2 separate regions of the Homo sapiens genome follow, and region 2 is linked to region 1. Evidence: promoter capture Hi-C in 16 types of primary human blood cells and fetal thymus (Javierre and others, 2016). All regions are on one chromosome and are shown on one strand. The core of a region is centred on a gene start or on the middle of the fragment in contact, and the rest is flanking DNA. Distances in the headings are between cores, read along the strand shown.

The links. The method cuts DNA at HindIII sites, captures the fragments that hold promoters and counts their contacts. A CHiCAGO score of 5 or more calls a contact.
Region 2: a contact is called between a fragment that was not itself captured here and the fragment with the promoter of TMC1 in region 1, in 3 of 17 cell types (M0 macrophages, M1 macrophages and M2 macrophages). The highest score is 7.4, in M0 macrophages.

What each region holds. Positions count from the first base shown.
Region 1 is chr9:72,518,913-72,523,449 of GRCh38, reverse strand. It overlaps TMC1 (transmembrane channel like 1), which reads right to left and starts at 1,842. Exons shown (of 24, transcript NM_138691.3): 1 at 1,537-1,842. It overlaps LOC101927234 (a long non-coding RNA gene), which reads left to right. Exons shown (of 3, transcript XR_001746721.3): 3 at 1-32. The HindIII fragment of the contact is 6,235 bases long and covers 1-3,193 here.
Region 2 is chr9:72,419,685-72,424,221 of GRCh38, reverse strand. No RefSeq gene overlaps it. Among named protein-coding and RNA genes, the nearest start is that of ZFAND5, 57 kb to the right of the region's middle. The HindIII fragment of the contact is 5,180 bases long and covers 1-4,537 here.

The DNA.
Region 1 (4,537 bases), core at 593-3,092:
TGTGTTAATAAACTGTTTATGTTATTGGTAAAGCATCTGGTCAACAGTAGGCTGTTAGGAAAGTGTGAGGGTAGTCAAAAGTTAAGCTCAGATTTTTGACTACGCAAGGGTCGGCATCCCTAAACCCCAAGTTGTTCAAGGTCAACTATAATTCCCTATTACTCCTCACTCTTCCTCCCTCCTTCCTCCTCTTCTTCCTTATCCCTTCTCCTTCATTTTCCCCACAGGCTAACTGCAACTCAGCCCACTTCATTTCCTAATTTTTCCTCCTCCCTGCATCCCCCCGAGTCTTTGTGAGATGCTCTTCCCTTCACTCCTGCCAGCCCTATGGCATCATGGCATTATCATGGTGTATGGAGAACTTCTGTCTTATCTGTTTCTCCCACTAACCCAGTGGTTTTCAACTGGAGACAATTTTGCTCCTCAGGGGACATTTGGAAAAGTCTGGAGACATTTTTAATTGTCACTTCTGGGGAAGGGGGTTGATACTGTCATCTACTGAGTAGAAGCCAAGGATGCTGCTAAACATCCTACAGTGCACAGGACAGCCCCTCACAAAAAAGGATTATCAGGCCCCAAAGGCCAATAGTGCTAAGGTTGAGAAACTGCACTAGGCTGAGTTCCTTTAAAATATGACCCTATTCAGCGCTGTTCCAGCAGCTCCACAGACAGTGTCCAGTGCCCAGTAGGAAGGAATCCAAACAGTTTTAATATTACATTTGAAATTTTAATTGAAAAACTCTTCTGACAGCTGTATGTTATAACTAATAAGCAATATGACCACATACCACAATTCAAAGGAAAACCAATATCCAGAGGTAAAGGTGGCTTACACCCATCAGTCTTTGACACTTCCTCCTATCTAGTTCTCTGTATTTCTTCCCTTTCTCCTTTTCTCTTGTCCCTGTGCTCACTGTCCCCCTTTACTGTCATGTTTGTTTGAATTCCACTTCAAAATGGGAATTTGAACAGAGTGCAATAAATTGTCCCACATTTGTTTATTTTAGGAAATCATTGCATTTAATTTTAACATTTAAACATATCAATTAGGCCAGGTGCGGTGGCTCACGCCTGTAATCCCAGCACTTTGGGAGGCTGAGGCGGGCGGATCACGAGGTCAGGAAATCGAGACCATCCTGGCTAACACGGCGAAACCCCGTCTCTACTAAAAATACAAAAAATTAGCCGGGCGTGATGGCGGGCGCCTGTAGTCCCAGCTACTTGGGGAGCCGAGATCGCGCCACTGCACTCCAGCCTGGGAGACAGAGCAAGACTCCGTCTCAAAAAAAAAAAAACTTATCAATTACTGGGTGACATGCTGTGCACTGCAAGAAAAACAAAGATAAATAGGAAACTGGGACTATCCTAACTGGGGGAGATTTCTGTAGCAGTAGAAAAGTAGAGGAAATATAGTTTTATTTCACTAATGTGATTAGGGAATATCTCATGGAGAAAGTCTTCGATTTAGGTCTTCACACATGTTTCATAAAGAATGTTAACACACCACACATAGGTAATAATGTTGTCTTTCCTTACCTGGCATCATTATGAGGGCCACTTTTTGGGGCAATGATTCCTAAATTTCAGCAACTCCTGGAGGGCTTGTGAAAGAAAGCACAGATTGCTGGGTTCTGCCCTCATAGTTTCTGAGGCAGTAGGTCTTCGGTGAAATCAGAAAACTGGTGTTTCTTTTTTCTTTTTTTTTTTGTGACGGAGTCTTGCTCTGTCACCCAGGCTGGAGCGCAATGGCGTGATTTCAGCTCACTGCAACCTCCGCCTTCCGGGTTCAAGCGATTCTCCCGCCTCAGCCTCTGAGTAGATGGGAAACAGTCGCGCGCCATCATGTTTTTGTAGAGGCGGGGTTTCACTCTATTGGCCAGGCTGATCTTGAACTCCTGACCTCAGGTGATCCGCCCACCTCAACCTCCTGAAGTGCTGGGGTTATAGGCGTGAGCCACGGCGCCTGTTTGTTTTTTTTTTTCTAATCAGAGGTTTTGCTCTTGTCGCCCAGGCTGGAGTGCAATGGTGTGATCTTGTCTCACTGCAACTTCTGCCTCCCAGGTTCAAGTGATTCTCCTGCCTCAGCCTCCCAAGTAACTGTGATTTCAGGTGCCCGCCACTACACCCGGCTAATTTTTGTATTTTTAGTAGAGGCGGGGTTTTGCCATGTTGGCCAGGCTGGTCTCAAAACTCCTGACCTCAGGAGTTCGGCCTCCGAAAGTGCTGGGATTACAGGCATGAGCCACTGTGCCCGGCCTAGAAAACTGGTGTTTCCAACAAGTCCTTTGGTGCTGCTGGTGCTACTGCGGGCCTTCTGAGGAGACTTTGAGAACCGCTGCATCAGGATTATCAGCCTGGTAACTCCTGGCCGAAGAAATGCACACCCTTCATTTGGCTAAAAGAAAGAATTTCCAATATTCATAAAGAAAACACAACTTGTGGGTTCTCCAAGCAGGAGAGGAAAAATCATGTTCCAGTCTATTCCTGTAACTAATGAAGGGCTCAGGTTTCAAAGGTAAGTTAATTGTCAGACCCACTTTATTGTACCCAGTGTCCTTGGGAAACATAATTATTTATTGGAAATATGTCACAACTAACATAAGTCTTAAAAATTTGTTAAATTAGAAACAAAATATTGTATTTGCTGATATGTTAAAACATAAGGGCCTAACATTTAGAATTGCACTTCTCATACTCACAACATGTACTCAAAATGCTGTTAACATCTACTTTGATGATTGTTTTGGGTTTACTTGAATCTAATGTTTCCATTTAATAATTCCTTTTTTTTCCCCTTTCCTTTTTTCAATCAATCCTTTCTCTTTTCTATGTTCTATATTCATGTTATCTTAGAATTCCATTTTGGCCTTCTAGGTTCTTTACTTCTTCCTCCAGCCTGTCATTTTCATGTCTTCAGTGATTTCTCAGACTTCTCACAGAAAGTTAACCATTTTTGTGCATCTTGAAACTTTTAACCTTTGATTTGAAGATAAATGCTAATAAATAAATATAATTCTTATGAATACATTATGCACAATGTTAAATTCAAAATGACTGACATGTTTCATGCTGTGTGCTATAGATATGCTAAACTTCATTTCAAACAGACTAAATAAAACACATGGAACTACATGCACTTTTTGTGAACAGCATCTTCATACCTGTTGTTTGTTAATGTCAGCAATTATAAGCTTATAGGTGTGTTTTTCAAGTGATCACTGAAAATAAATGTAGTATGTCTATTGGCAGAACCACTCACACCTACTAATTATTTGAAAAACATGCTCAAACACACAGTAGTGCCTTCTAGAGAAAGCATAGTATAGTCCTCCCTCATTTCCAAGGACAAGAATTCATTTCTTTAAGCTTTCTTCACGAAAGAATGCAATAAAAGAGGAGGAAACTGGGACTTGATTGAAGAAATATCTCTACTGGGAGCATGAACTAATAATGAGTGACTCTAAGAAATCTCTCACAGGCATTTTTATTTTTGGCTTTTGTTGTTGTTGTTTGGTTGGTTTTCATTTGTTTTTTATTTTTATTTTTTATTTTATTTTTATTTTTTGAGGCAGAGTCTCGCTCTGTCACCCAGGCCAGAATGCAGTAGCACTGTCGTGGGTCACTGCAGTCTTTGCCTCCCAGGTTCAAGTGATTCTCCTGCCCCAGCCTCCTGAGTAGCTGGGATTACAGGCACCTGCCATCATGCCCAGCTAATTTTTGTATTTTTGTAGAGACGGGGTTTCACCATGTTGACCAGGCTGGTCTTCAACTCCTGACCTCACGTGATCTGCCTGCCTCAGACTCCCAGCTGTTTTTTTATTTTTTAATTTTAATTTCATTTTTTATTTTTTGGGGGACAGGGTCTCACTCTGTCACTCAGATTGGAGTGCAGTGGTGTGATCTCAGCTCACCGCAACCTCCGCCTCCTGGGTTCAAGCGATTCTCCTGCCTCAGTCTCACGAGTAGCTGGGATTACAAGTACACACCACTACCGCCCAGCTAATTTTTGTATTTTTATTAGAGATGGGGTTTCACCATGTTAGCCAGACTGGTCTTGAACTCCTGACCTCAAGTGAGCCACCCACCTCAGCCTCCCAAAGTGCTGGGATTACAGGCGTGAGCCACCGCGCCCAACCTGTTTTTTCTTTTTACCGTCACTAAAACAAAGGCAGCACATGCAATTGTCAGTGCCATTTGGCATCTTAAATTAAGACTGAAGACTGCAAAATCCATTTCCTGTTTTCATCCCCTGCTTAATATGAATTTTTCAAAAGACCACTTCCCCTAAGTTACAATAAGAAAATTAGAAATTAATTTGCTTTATCACAAATGGCTTGCATGCTGAGGCATTGTTTAAATGTGTCTGGTCCTTTCTGATTTTTATAACTTAGAGCTGTAAGTCCTGTCATTTCAGTTTACACCATAGTTTTAGGGACACAGAAATTTAAAAGCGAATGTCCGGAAGGCTCTCTGGAATGCTGGCCTACTTTGCACAACTGAGGGGCTATTGTTCAAATCTTTTCTGTAGTATACATGT
Region 2 (4,537 bases), core at 1,206-3,705, 100 kb after region 1:
GTCAGTTCTGGTAACAAGATCCTAAAGATGAAATAGTCTTCATAAATTGCAAGGGTTTCACTGAAACACAGAACTCCCTGGGCCTCCTGGAAATTTTTATCAAGAATGCAAATAAGACATAAACAACTCACAGCTTCCATAACTATTATGCCTAATTTAACAGAAATAATTTCATCTGTATGTACTCTGTAATCTTCACCCCTCTTCAAATTGAACCAGAAGTACCACAAATCATTGCCAAATTGATCCCATTTTGTTATTTCCCTTGATGGTACCAGCCTACTGGTCCTTGAAAGTATCCAGTGCTTCACCCTCCACCCAGGGAGCCCATGCCGGGCACCTCCTTGCTCTTTCAAGGCCCTCCCTCATGTGACACCCAAAACTACTGCACTTTTTTTTCCCATTACATTTTAGCCCTGTTTTCACAAAAGACATAAATGACTTGTCTAACATTTTAACACCAGGGCCTAACAGGGCCATACTCAAAGCCAATGTCTTGAAAAAATTAAGTAAAATAATAAACTATGGGCTGGGCGCAGTAGCTTACTCCTGCAATCCCAGCACTTTGGGAGGCCAAGGCAGGTGGACCACCTGAGGTCAGGAGTTTGAGACTAGCCTGGCCAACATGGCGAACTCCGTCTCCACTAAAAATACAAAAATTAGCCTAGCATGGGGGTGGGCGCCTGTAATCCCAGCTACTCAGGAGGCTGAGGCAGGAGAATCGCTTGAACCTGGGAGGCAGAGGTTGCAGTGAGCTGAGATCGTGCCATTGTACTCCAGCCTGGGCTACAAGAGAGAAACCCCATCTCAAAATAATCATAACCATAATCATAATCATAATAAACTATGAAGACCACACAGAGGTGTACTTATTGTTCCAATCAATTGAACCGTAAAACAAAGCTACTTTCCTATGCACAATTGTGTCCTTCTGGGTTAATAGGCACACATAATAAGCTGCTCACAGAAATGAACGCAAAGCACTGGCCCAAGTGGAGAATGAACCCCTGCATTTCTTCTGCAAATAGGGAAAGGAGCTTGGGGTGTAGTAGGAAACTGTTCCAAATTCCCTGGCATCTACAAATACTTAAATTTATCCATCAGAAGAAAAATAGTTTTATTTGGTAGAGCTCCAGAAAACAGAACTAGGACAAGTAGGTGAAGTTAGGGAGATAAATTATTTCTGTTCAAAATATGGGAAAACTGGGTGACAATCACTGCTGTCTAAAAATGGACTAGGTTGCCTCATGTGGCACCACATTCTGGATCACCTGTAGTGTCTGAGGAGAAGCAAAGTGACAATTGTCAAAGATGACATCCAGGGGATGCTTTCTGGGAGTGGGCAATAAGAAGGGATGATGTTATGAGGTGCTTCTGAGTCTGCAATTCCATTTTTCCCAATCCCCACCTCTTTCCAGCTTCAATGAGGCCTCCTGGGAGCCAGTAGTAGTTAGGTGGTCAAAAAGAAGGACAGAGACAAGAAAAGTTGAGCTCAAATCCCACTCTACCACTTAATAGCTGAGTGACCATGAGCAAATCCCTTAATCTTTTTGAGCTTCCATTTCTTCACCTACAAAGTGGAGTTTTCTACTAATTCTTTTCATAAGGAATAAGAGAGGTATTATATGTAAAGTGCTTTGAACACTGCCTGGCAGAGACTAAGTGTGCAACAAATATTAGTTGTTATTATTACAACTCAAACTACGAGAAAATTAGAGGACTCAGAAGTGTATTGGAAAGGACGTCATGATGATTTAATACCAACTCTGGCTACAAGAGGGTAAACACACAGTGGTGGAGATAACGTTAGGCAAAGGGCAAAGGACTTACTCTGACAGCTCCATTAGCATGCAGGGCTGCATGATCAATGCCAAGCATAAAACATCATGGGGATTTAAGGCCGGACGCGGTGGCTCACGCCTATAATCCCAGCACTTTGGGAGGCTGAGGCGGGCGAATCACGAGGTCAGGAGATGGAGACCATCCTGGCTAACACAGTGAAACCCCGTCTCTACTAAAAATACAAAAAATTAGCCGGGCGTGGTGGCGGGCGTCTGTAGTCCCAGCTACTGGGGAGGCTGAGGCAGGAGAATGGCACGAACCTGGGAGGCGGAGCTTGCAGTGAGCCGAGATCGCGCCACTGCACTCCAGCCTGGGTGACAGAGCGAGACTCCATCTCAAAAAAAAAAAAAAAAAAAAAAAGAAACATCATGGAGATTCAGACAACTTTCCCTTTTTCACCGCACTTGTTGTCCTATTGCCAAAACCTATATAGACTGTGACTTTCCCCCTTACTGTGAACCCTGCTATCGAACATCCCTGGCAGCATATCCTGCTGCCCACTCTCATCCTTCATCTATAAACCAGACATGAAGAAAACTATGTTCATTGGTGCAGCTCAGGCAAAGAAGTTTCCAAGGGCTTTGCTATGTTTTAATGTATGTGTCCCTCCAAAATTCATTTTGGAACTTCAACCTCAGTGTGATAGTTTAGAAAGCTGGGGCTGGCTGGGCACGGTGGCTCACGCCTGTAATCCCAGCACTTTGGGAGGCCGAGGCAGGGGGATCACCTGAGGTCAGGAGTTCGAGACCAGCCTGGCAAACATGGTGAAACCCCGTCTCTACTAAAAACACAAAAATTAGCTAGGCATGGTGGCAGGCACCTGTAATCCCAGCTACTCCAGAGGCTGAGGCAAGAGAATCGCTTGAACCCGGGAGGTGGAGGCTGCAGTGAGCCAAGATCGTGCCATTGCACTCCAGCCTGGGCAACAGAGCAAGACTCTGTCTCAAAAAAAAAAAAAAAAAAAAAAAAGCTGGGGCCTTTAGGAAGCAATTCAGTCATGAGGGCAAAGCCCTCATACATAGGATTAGTGACCTTGTAAAAGAGCTGGAGGGAACCAGCTAGACCCTTTTTCCCCCTTCAGTCTCTTCTGCCATGTGAGGACATAGCATTCATCCCTCTTTTGCCCTTTTCCCCTTTGCACCATGTGAGGACGCAGCAAGAAGGTCCTCAGCCAGACATCAAATGTGTAAGCACCTTGATCTTGGACTTCCCAGCCTCCAAAATCATATGAAATAAATTTTTGTTTTTTATAAATTACCCAGTCTCAGACACTTTGTTATAGCAGCATAAAAAGACTAAGACAGGCTGCTGCTTAAAATGACAAGGGAGAAAAGAAATCAAGTCTAATGCACTCTTTTTGAGCAACTTCTCAAAAAGTGGGCACACTTGACTCACATTTCTATGTTCCTGTTTTGTCTACACTTTTTATTTGATACCATGGAGCAGTCTGAAGCACACCCTTCCTCCTGCCTTTCCAGCACCCAAACCCCTGGCTTCAAATGGCTCATTTTATACATCTTCAGCCCACAGCCCTAGTCTGACCTCTCCCACCATATCAGCTCAATTATGCACAATACTGCTGTGCTGTGTAGATTTGTTCAACAATGTTATGATCTGAGCTCCTTGGGGAAAGGATCTTGTCATTTCTACTTCTACTTTGCAAGGTACCATGTGTATTGCCAACACTTTATAAACAATAATAATGTGTTAAAGGTGGATTTTCTATGTGTTCAAGTTACTAAATGAAAAATGACACCTTCTATTTCTAATGTTAATGCCCTTATCTACTAACACTCATTTCATATTTGCTGGAGAAAGGAAACATCTCATTTTAATTCAAATCTATTCTGGCGATCTTTGGAAATGAGGGTCACCCTCAAGAGTTTAAACTTACATATCAGGTCATTGTGAAAAAATTTCAAAAACCTATATCTCCTTCCAGTAATTATTTTAACTATAAAGCTCTTTCTTACAAACAGGCAGCCCAAATTTGATAAATGCTTGTTGAGCAAATAAACAAATGAGACTAAAATGAACCTCATGACAAGACTAAGAGATAAGAAGAACTGGTGATTATTTTCCCATTTTACCACACCGAAAATTGGTCTTTTTATTTTATTTTAACATTGTGTATGTGATAGGGTCTTGCTCTGTCGCCCAGGCTGGAGTGCTGTGGTGCAATCACAGCTCACTACAGCTCCAACCTCCTGGGCTCAAGTGGGCCCCTGCTTGAGCCTCCTAAGTAGAGGAGACTATAGGGTGGGCCACCAGGCCTGGCTAATTTTTTTTTTTTTTTTTTTTTTTTTTTAGAGATAGGGTCTCCCTATGTTGCCCAGGTTGGTCTTGAACTCCTGAGTTCAAGTGATCCTGCTGCCTCAGCCTCCCAAAGTGTTGGGATTACAGGCACGAGCCACTTGCCCTTGGTCAAAAATCAGTGCTTTAAAATGGATGTTTCATGGTCATGAATTAAATTCGGGTCTCTTGACTCCAAGTTCTAGTCAGATTTATTTGATGATTTTATCTCTCTTTTTTTTTTTTGAAATGGAGTTTCACTCTTATTACCCGGGCTAGAGTGCAATGGCATGATCTTGGCTCACTGCAACCTCCACTTCCTGAGTTGAAGCGATTCTCCTGCCTCAGCCTCCTGAGTAGCTGCGATTACAGGTGCCCACCACCACGCCTGGCTAATTTTTGT